Linked DNA regions of Homo sapiens: region 1 is linked to region 2. Evidence: promoter capture Hi-C in human tissues and cell types (Jung and others, 2019). All regions are on one chromosome and are shown on one strand. Each heading gives the region's core, a stretch centred on a gene start or on the middle of the fragment in contact. The rest is flanking DNA. Distances are from core to core; before and after follow the strand shown. Region 1 has its middle 100 kb from the start of KCNT1. Region 2 holds the start of NACC2 (NACC family member 2).

Region 1 (5,075 bases), core at 1,810-4,309, 290 kb before region 2:
TCCTGGCTAACACAGTGAAACCCCGTCTCTACTAAAAATACAAAATATTAGCCGGGCGTGGTGGCAGGCGCCTGTAGTCCCAGCTCCTCGGGAGGCTGAGGCAGGAGAATGGTGTGAACCCAGGAGGCGGAGCTTGAAGTGAGCCGAGATCACGCCACTGCACTCCAACCTGGGCGAAAGAGCGAGACTCCCTCTCAAAAAAAAAAAAAAGTAGTATTAGACCTCTACAAGAAAAATTATCAAATGTTTTGCAAGCTTTAAGAGTTAAATAATGAAGCCACACCAAGTTCATGGATCAATACTATAAAGATGTCAAATCTCTCTGACCTCAAGACAATCCCAAACCAAATCTCAATTACTGGGGGTTGGGGAGGGGAGGGGAGGGGAGGGGAGGGGAGGGGAGGGGAGGCTGGGTAGAACCTAACATGCAAAGGGCCAAAAATATCCAAAACGCTCTTAGCGGAAGCAGCTGGTTTACCAGAGAGCGAGTCTCATTATCAAGCGACAGGAATCAGGATCCTGCCTGTGTATTGCACAAATAGACAACTAGACTGGATTCGCTTCCTGTTGCTGCTGTAACAAACTTAGTGACTTCAACCACCACAAACTTATTAACAGCTCCATAGACCAGAAGTCGGACAAACACCTGAGTTGAGATCAAGGTCATCAGCAGAGCTCCCAGCTTTCTGGAGACTCTCCAGAGAATCTAGAAGCCTTTCCAGCTTCTAGAGGGCATCTGCATTCCTTGGCTCACGGCCCCTCCCTCCATCTGCAAAACCAGCAGTCTGCAGCTCTGTGCTCTCTTCCGTCGGCCCGGTCTTGCTCTGTCCTCTGCACCCATCCCACACTTGAGACACCCTTGTGATGACATGGGGCTCCCCTAACAGTCTATGCTGATCTCCCATCTCAAGATCATCTGATTCGCAACCCGAATTCCATCTTCAACCTTGATTCCCCTTCACTGTGTTAACAAAACACCCAGAGATCAGAATATGGACATCTCTGAGGGTGTAGGGTGGGCACTGCTCTGCTCACCAGAGACCAACGGACTGGAAGTACTGAAACAAAACCACAGCAAAGCTGGCACTGCCAAACAGCAGAGGAAGTATGGCGTGTCCAAGAAGTGGCTCTGGGACCATTAGAGATTCTCATAGAAAAAAAAATGATACGGACTTCCACCTCATTCACAAGCCGTAAGAGCCAAGTCCAGGTGCGTTATAGGCTGAAATACAAACGTCAAAGGTTTACAAGGTAGTTTCCATGGCAGGGCAAGAGTTTTTTATTTTTTTGTTGGTTTTTTGTTTTGTTTTGAGATGGAGTCTTAATCTGTCACCGAGGATGGAGTGCAGTGGCACTGTGTCAGCTCACTGCAACCTCCGTCTCCTGGGTTCAAGCAATTCTCCTGCCTCAGCCTCCTGAGTAGCTGGGATTACAGGCGCCCACCACCACGCCCAGCTAGTTTTTATATTTTTAGTAGAGATGGGGGTTTCACCATGTTAGCCAGGCTGGTCTCAAACTCCTGACCTCAGGTGATCCACCCGCCTCGGCCTCCCAAAGTGCTGGGATTACAGGCGTGAGCCACCACGCCCGGCTTAGATTTCTGAAACGCTAATAACATTGACAATCTGGCCACAAAATCTTAAAAACTTCTGTGTATCCACAAACAAAAAAAATTGAAAAGTCACAGAATGGAAGATATTTATACCTTCTGTATATTGTCTTTCAAAAATGTATCTTCTATAAATTAGGAAAAGATGACTCAGGAGAAAAACAGGCAAAAAGCTTCTACAGACACTTCACAGGAGGAAACTCCGTGACCAAAAAAAGATGTAAATAGGCTCCACTTCTGTTGCCATCAAGAAACTGCCAATCGGCTGGGCGCGGTGGCTCACACCTGTAATCCCAGCACTTTGGGAGGCCGAGGTGGGTGGATCACGAGGTCAGGAGTTCAAGACCAGCCAGGCCAACATAGTGAAATGCTGTCTCTACTAAAAATACAAAAATTAGCCGGGCATGGTGGCGTGCACCTGTAATCCCAGCAACTCAGGAGGCTGAGGCAGGAGAAGCACTTGAACCCGGGAGGTGGAGGTTGCAGTGAGCCGAGATCGTGCCACTGCACTCCAGCCTGGGTGACAGAGTGAGACTGTCTTAAAAAAAAAAATGCCAATCGAAGGCACTGGGCAGCGTGTGGTGTGTCTCAAATGCCAACGCCACACAGAGGAGCCCCAGCTTGGCACGTCTGCTGCTCACAAAAGGAGAGGCGCCCTGTCCTCTTGATCACTCAAAGAAGTTCTATGAATCAACAGGAAAAAAGCCCACCCAATTAACACAACCTCATTAAAAGTGGGCCAGGGAAGTGAACGGAAATCTCCCAGAAGCAGCAGCGTGTTAGGCCCATCCCCATTTGAAAACACAAGTCAACCTCCCTAGTGCCCGGGAAAGGAACAGAGAAAGCAGTGACAACCCACATCACACCCACCAGTCCAGGAAAAGTCCAATCCTGGGGCCCTGAGAATCCCACACGGGCCCAGCACATCCCAGCCCCCGGCCCGTGCTCCCAGGACACAGGCCTGGGGCTGGAGACAGGCTTAGCAGCGCAGTGGCGGTGCCGGGAGGGGCCTGGGACAGGGCAAGCTCTGGGCAGATACTCCCCCACCTGCTGAGACCCGAGCACGTCCAGGCTTGCTCCATAAGCCATGCGGGGAGGACCCCGAGTCATCCTCAGGCCGTCGACTCCACCCCAGCTGGGCAGACAGCTCCTCTCCTCCTGCCACTTTCTCAAATAGCCGCCCCACCCCCGTGAGCTCCACTGAGGCCCAGACATACACCCCCATCAGTGCCGTACACACTTCAACATCTTTGAAAGCAGACCATCTTAACATCAACAGCGTGGCATAGTTTGATGGGCAGCATTTCTTGGTGGCACAAAATGATGATGTATCTTAAAATGAAGGACACCTTAGATTCCGTGAAATACCAAGTTGTCAGTGGATGCTGCTATCCTCATCTGCCTGTGCACTGGCCGGCCTGTAAGCTCCAGGCGGGCAGGGCTGGTAAGCACTGGCGCAAGGTGCACCTGCTTACGCGGTGACTCCGGTGTGGGGTGCAGGGTGTGGAGGTGGGCGTAGTGTCCGGAGATACCAACAGCCATGTGCTGTGGGGAAGGGGCAGGGCAGGGTGGGCAGTTTTCTGTTCTGTTCTCTCCTGTGCATTTCTGAACTCTTTGCACAGCTGATACTTTCAAGGAAAGCATATATATATAGCAAGGGCTGTGTATGCAATCAATTCACTTCCAGTGCAGGGCAAGGAAATTAACTCCAAAGGAGAGACTGCAGCCCAGAGCTTCCTGCAGGGCACCCACCTGGATATGTTCCGGGAAGAGGGGCACCGGCCCCCACCACAGCCCCAGCCAGGCTTGTGGGAAACCCTCCTCACCCCTTGCCTCGCACTTCAGAATGAGGCCTTTCCTTTGTACCCTAATCCTCCGAGGCTGAAATGCTACTTCTGTGGGGCTTCTAAAACAAGATCTACATTACCAGTTTTTATTTGAAAGCACAGAAGACAGGCCTGCAGCTTCTCCATAAATGGAGGAAACCCCATTTGCTTCTGAATTCTCAGACAAAAAAGAAGATTCAGACCAGGCTTGGTGGCTCACACCTGTAATCCCAGCACTTTGGGAGGCCGAGGTGGGCGTATCACCTGAGGTCAGGAGTTTGAGACCTGCCTGGCCAACATGGTGAAAACCCTGTCTCTACCAAAAATGCAAAAATTAGTCAGGCGTGGTGGCGTGTGCCTGTAATCCCAGCTACTAGGGAGGCTGAGGCAGGAGAATCACTTGAACCTGGGAGGCAGAGGTTGTAGTGAGCTGAGATCGCACCACTGCACTCCAGCCTAGGCGACAGAGTGACAGTCCATCTCAAAAAGAAAAAAAAAAAGCAGATTCATCTTCAAAACAATAAACGGACCCTCCACCACCCACTTTCCAGCTGGGTCCACACCTCGCCCAAGTGCTCTGCAGGGAGGGTGTGGCCGGTGCTGTCTCTAACAGACAGAGTGTGGGGAGGTGACCCTCAGCCTAACCACCAATCGTCTGCTGTCGCCCCCCTCCCAGCACCAGGTCGAAGTCTGCACACTCACAAGACTGCTCCACCCACAACAGGCTCCCGGGGGATGAGGTGCCAAACACAAGAGTGTGTTCACAGGCGGTGTTCGTGACACGGCTGCTCTACAGGAACTGCCAGCCTGGCACGCCATGGGCTCTGCCCTGTGTACCTGCCCGCCACCCTCAGAACAGTCCTCGCGATGTGGTTACCATTGGGCTTGACCCCTGTTCCTCGCTCAACACGGCTCCCATGCCTGCCACGGGCCCCCCAGCCCTCCCAAGCCTCCTCCTGAAGAAGTTAGTGGGAGGCTGACTGGAATAGCCCTCTCCAGTGTGCCCAGCCCAGGGCTGGGACTCTTAACCACAAGGCTCAGGGTGCCACCGCCTCACCCCATGTCTGGCCTGGTGTGTGTACCAGGGCCCTCCAGAGAGCGCTCCCGAGCCACTTGCAGCCCACAGGCCCTCGCTGCGCCTGGAAGGCAGGGTTCAGGCCGGGAGCCCCATGGTCTCCACCATTCAGACACAGCCTTTGCACCAAATGACTTGAAGTTTTACAGCTTAGTTTAAAAACCCGATTTGTAGCTAAAATAGTCACACATTTTTAAGTGGTGATCTCATTTCTTTTCTTTCCCTAACAGATAGGCCCACAGTTCTTATAAGGCTAATTTTGTCTGACTACTCCGTGGCTACCATTCCTTCCTGAAAAGCGCTGCCCCTTCCCTTGAGAACATGGTGGCACTCTTACAGCAAGGAGGCTTCCAGGCACAGACGCTCCACCAAGACCCGGGCCCAGGGCAGCATCTTCACCACGCACTGACTGTCCCGTGTGCCGGCCACTGGCACTCACCCAGCACCCACAGGGAAGATGGCCTGGCCTCTGCCCACTGGCCCACCGCTGCTCTCTGACCCGCACTGCAGAGCTCAGGGTGGTCGCACCCTCCCCTTCCCCTTCCACCGCCACCGCCACCACATC
Region 2 (5,309 bases), core at 1,218-3,717:
CCCCTGTGGACTCCGACCCTCATCCCACCGGCCACAGTCCAACTGGATCTCGGAACCCACTGCGTGACCCTGCAAAGGGGATGGAGTGACCCCAAGGGGCTGTGAGATGCAGAGAGGCAGCCTGGGGACAGTGTGTGGAGGTGGCTAGAACAGGGCTGGCTGAGGAAGGAACATGGGCTCTGCCCCACTGACGGTGGCTGGGGCCACTGGGCACTCGGTGCCCTGTGCGTTCCAGGGACACAGGTCAGAGGCACAGACCTCAGAGGAAGGGGCACAAGGTGGAACCTTGGGAACTCAACATCCCGAAAAGGACAACACCTTGGTTCCCCATTCCATCCCTCGGGCCTGGGAGACCACACTGCCCACAAACCAGGAAAGCAGGACTCCGGAGGCAGAGGCCAAGAGGAGTGCAGGCCTGGAAGAACCGCTCAGCACCAAGATCGTCACTGTTGTTTCATGAATAATGCAGCCTCATGCTTTAATTGGAAAACAAAGGGAGGATTGAAGAATTTTTTAAAAGTCACCACTAGCCCCCTGCCCAGGGCAGAGCAGCCCTGCGAACCCTTCCAGCAGCCGGTGGTAAAGAACAGAGCCTGTTCTCGCAGCCTGTAGCAGCCCAGCTCCCACTGCTCCCAGCAGGAGATCTCCCGGGTGGCTCCTCCCCGCCTTCCCGCCAGGCCAGGGCCAGCACCATCGAGCCCTGGGTGTGACCACTGCGAAAGGATCCCTGGCCACTAAGAAGTGACAAGTGATATCTTGTTCCACTCTCTGTGCCCATTCCAAGTGGCTTTGCCGAAAGGACAGGGGGCCACCACCTTGGGTGGCAGCTCCTTTTATTTCCTCCCCTTGGACTCTGGCCCAGCTACCACCCAACAGTGACCCCAGGGGAAAACGCCAAGAGGCCTCTTTAAGGGAGGGGCTGGGAAAGGCCCCACAGAGGACCAGAGGGGTGCTCCAACGGTGGCCGGGAGAAGAAGGGGTGGGTGGCTGAGAGGTGGCGGGTGGGGCGGGGGCTGCCTGAACCCTGACCTAACTCTAGGCGCCCCTGCTGGGGGGTGCTACAGGCTAAAACACCCTGCAGAATGCTGAGCTGAGTGTCCCACTGGAGAACAGGAGGGAAGGAGGTCAGGAGCCTGCCAGACGAAAAGAGGGGTGGGTGAGAAGAAGGGGCGACCTGGAGGGACACGGACTCTGGCAGGAGAGTGCGGCCGCGCTGGCGGGCGGGAACACCAAGGTGCACGCGCTCCCGGAGGCAGCTCCACGGGATGGGAGTCCGGGCTGCCTTGGGCACCCCCGGGTCAGCACCCCCGCCACACACAGGAAGGAACGCGCAGCAGAGAACACAGCTCAGGGCACCCAGCGGCCCAGGGAGACGGGCCCACCAGCACGTGGGTGAAACACCTCCAATCCGGAGGCCCCGCGCGGGGGTTGGGGGAGGGAGTGGAACGGCCTGGGAGGCCAACTCCAGGGACCCGGCCTCGCGGCCTTCAGACCCACAGGTTTAAGCGGCTCCACGACGAGAGTCCAAGACCAAACTTCCCCCAGAGCCTGGCAGAGGGGCTGGGAGGTGACCTCTGACCTCCGACCCCACACGATCCCAGCAAGAGAAGCAGGAAACTCCGTCGGAAGGCCTCGGTCCGCCCTGGCCGTGCGGGGTGCGCGGCGGGCCCCGGGCTCCGCTGAGTTTCTTAGAGAAGGAGCTGGGGCCCCCCGACCTCAGCTCCGCAGAGGCACAGAAGCTGGCAAGAGGCAGAGCCCCCTCCCCCTGCGGCCGGACCCCAGTTTCTCCCCAGGCTGGGGCCCGAGTGGGGGAGGCGCGGGAGGCGGTGACGACCCACGAACGGGCCCACCTGGACCGGGAGGGCGAGGCGCGGGCCCGGCTGGGCCAGGCAGCTGCGCAGATGCGCCGGGAGGGGTGGGTACCTCCGCCCTGGCCCCGGGCCAGTCCTGCCCCGGCTTCCCCACCCGGAGGGCTGGATCGGCCAGTCGGGTCCCTGGGGAGGCCGCGCGGGTCCCCAGAAATCCAGGGAAACCCAGCAGGCGGCGGGGAGCGCCCCGGGACGCCCGGAGCCGGGGTCTCCCCGAACGCGCGGCGCGGCGTCCCGGCCCGGGGTCGCGGGCGCCTCCGCCGGGACCCCCCGGCCCCGCCCGGCCCCCCTCCGCGGGCTCCCGAGGCCGGTTCCCGCGCGCACGCCCGGGCCGGCGCGGAACTCGGCCGCACCCGCCCCGCGCGGCCGGCACTGCGGCAGGGGGCTCGCGCCAAGTTGGGCGGCCGCGGAGTTTGCGGGAAGTGCGGGCCCGGCCCGTGGGACGACCCCGCCCGGCGGCGTAACCCGGGGGCGGCCGCGCGCGCCAAGTTGGCGGTACCTGCGGGCGCCCGGCCCGGTCCGGCCTGGGCAGCTGCGGCGCGCCGCCCGCGGCAGGAAGTGCTTGGCGTCCCGGCGCTCCGGCTCCCATGGACTTTCTCCGACCTCGCCCAGCACCGGCGGCCGCACCGCGGCGGGGGCGGGGCGGCGGCGGGGGAGGTGCCCGCGGGCCGTTAAAGGGACAGCGCGCCGGCCGCGCGCGCGCGCGCACTGGCAGCCAGGTGGGCTCCCGGGGTCGGGGCTGGGGTCCGGGGGCCGGGAGGGTCCCCAGTGGGGGCCGGCGGGGCGTGGGGAACCCCGAGCGCTGGGGAGGGGAGGCGGCAGCTCCTCGCCCCTCGCGCGTCCTCCTTCCGGAGCTGCCGGCGGTCGACCCTGCGCGGGACACCCGGCGGGAGCCGGACGCCGCGGCGCAGAGGACGGAGCTCGGCGGCCGGGTCGGGAAAGGACCTGGAGCGCCGCCCTCCGCCCTCCCCGGGCCCCGGCCTCGGCCGGACTCGCTAAGCCCGGGAGAGCCCCCGGGCCCCCCTACCCCGCCCCCGGCGCGCGCCCTGCCCGCGGCAGTCGCGTCCGCACGGTGCAGCCTCCGGGATCCGGGCGGGGGAAGTGCGCGCATCCGCAGCCGCCCTGGACGCTCAGGCGGGCCGTGAAAGACGAGGATACGGGAGCGCCCTTGGGCGAACGTCTGCGGGGCTCCGGCGCCCGTCCCTGCGGCCCGGGAACTGCAAGCTGCCTGGACTGGGCCTGGCGCTGCCTTCAGGCCTGGTGTGATCCGGGCGCACTGGGGCGTTGACAGTCATTCCGGCACCGGCCACGCAGCTCTCCATCTGCCCAAGGCCACGCTCCTGAGGACAGAGGTGCAGTTTTAAAACAAGGGCACGGAAATAAAACGGCCACACACCCGGAAAGACCCAGAGACCCCTCCTCAGCTGCCCCCTAACCTGGGGCCTGAGGTCAGGACAGGCTGCAGTGGTCCTCAGAGGCTAAGCCAGCCTCACTCCCACAGCACGCTCAAGGGTCCTTGCAGGAGAATGGAGTGATACCGCCTCAGTGGTCCCGAGCGAGGGCGCTGGGAGAAGGGTTGAGAAGGAGATGGCCACCAGCATCCCAGAGAACGCCTTTGGGGCTCTGGGGATCAGAAACCTGGGGCTACAGCCCTTCTGGCACAGTCAGCCAAGGTCATTCCCTGGACAAATCATCAGAAGCTTGGCCAGGTTCTTGTCACCCCAACCTCAAGCTAGGCCCTTGATCTTGGCCACAGACTGGCCCTTGACCCCAACTTTAGGTTCTATTCAGCTCTGCGTCCAGAACACACACACACACACACACACACACTTCACTCCCTGGCTTGCCTTGTATGGGGGTGAGTATGGAACCCCGCAGGGACTCTGGGCTCTCCCCACAGAGTCCCATCTAGACCTAAATGCAGTCCCAGGTCCCACACCCCAACCCCCCTCCCCCCACCACTGCCACTTCCAAACCCGCCCCGCAGTCTACTGTGGGAAGGAGGTGGGGTAGGAGGGTTCTGAGTGCCTCCTACACCCAGGGCATGAGCTCAGCAGCCTCAGGGTTCTGGTGCTTCCTAGGCCTGACTTTACAATCTCTGCAGGATCTCTCAGTGAGCATAGCTACCCCAAGCCCCTGAGAATCGTGAATCCCAGAGACAGATGCCTGGAGCTGCTTCCAGCCCTGGGGCAGGCCTCAAGGGGCTACCCACTAGGACCCGTGGCCCTCCAGGGATGGGAATGATTGTTTTAATCACTTTTATTTTCTAAATATTAAAGACATTCTTCCTTAGTGAAGGATATTTGGAAAGCATTGAAAAGTGTTTAGAAGATAGCGGATAAGCAGAAATCAATTCCCCAATTTCTGTGTGCCTATACGTATGTACACCAACATATATTTGCACCTTTTAAAGCAAACCCTGCATCCCTACTGAATTCCAGGCCCGTGCTACTGAGTATGTACACCTTACCGCATTTAACGTTCACAACAGTACCATGAGGTGAGCTCTGTTTATTCCTTTTTTTTTTTTTTTTTTTGAGTCCGAGTCTCACACTGTTGCCCAGGCTGGGGTGCAGTGGCGCGATCTCAGCTCACTGTAACCTCTGCCTCCCGGGTTCAAGCGATTCTCCTGCCTCAGCCTCCCGAGTAGCTGGCATTATCGGCACGTGCCACCACGCCCAGCTAATTTTTGTATTTTTAGTAGAGACGGGGTTTCACCATGTTAGGCAGGCTGGTCTTGAACTCCTGACCTCAGGTGATCCACCTGCCTCAACCTCCCGAAGTGCTGGGATCACAGGTGTGAGCCACTGCGCCCAGCCTTATTCCCGTTTTACAGCTTAGCCTGGGGCTCACTCAGGGGTCCCCAGCAGGGCCTGGGCTGAGTGGGGCTCACCCCGGGTGCATCCTCCGCATCTCCTCCCTGCATTTGATCTTGTTGATTCCTGGCTGCTACAAGGGCCTGGGGGCCACAGTCTCAACTGAGCATAGCAGCACCGCTGCTATGGGTCTCCAGCTCAGGGAGGCCCCATCCGGGATCCAGGCCTGAGTTCTCACGGCCTTGCAACTTGATTTTTCCCCTTCCATCCAGAAAGCATTGGGCAGGGGGTAAGGGGAGGTCACAAGCCACATCTGCAGACACTGCAGAGCCCCTGGGTGCGCTCAGGAGTCATACACAGAGGACCAACCTGTTTGCCTGGACACCTGCGTGTCCTCCCCTGGATGGCAGAAGCCTTTGATGGCTCTCCAGGTGCTGCTACCATTGTGCAGGTGGTGACATCCCACCCCAATCTCACGCCAGATCCAGTCTGTGCCCATCCTAACAGCTCTGTGTTAAAGTCATGTCGGAGCCACCCTCCTGGTCCACAACTGCCCTGTTCTCCAGTGATTGCCACAGCCCCCTTCCCCACCCCGGTCCCTAGCCTCCCCTCCAGCCCTGCCCCA

What was found. The method cuts DNA at HindIII sites, captures the fragments that hold promoters and counts their contacts. A contact is called where the count stands out against the background at its distance.
Region 1: a fragment that was not itself captured here is called in contact with the fragment with the promoter of NACC2 in region 2 in 1 of the 25 tissues and cell types used here (dorsolateral prefrontal cortex).

The regions. Positions count from the first base shown.
Region 1 is chr9:135,800,567-135,805,641 of GRCh38, forward strand. No RefSeq gene overlaps it. Among named protein-coding and RNA genes, the nearest start is that of KCNT1, 100 kb to the left of the region's middle. RefSeq lists an enhancer at 2,668-3,334. The HindIII fragment of the contact is 4,082 bases long and covers 1,019-5,075 here.
Region 2 is chr9:136,092,822-136,098,130 of GRCh38, forward strand. NACC2 (NACC family member 2) reads right to left here and starts at 2,468. Exons shown (of 6, transcript NM_144653.5): 1 at 2,368-2,468. RefSeq lists an enhancer at 484-1,175 and silencers at 2,381-2,510, 2,831-2,930. The HindIII fragment of the contact is 19,137 bases long and covers 1-5,309 here.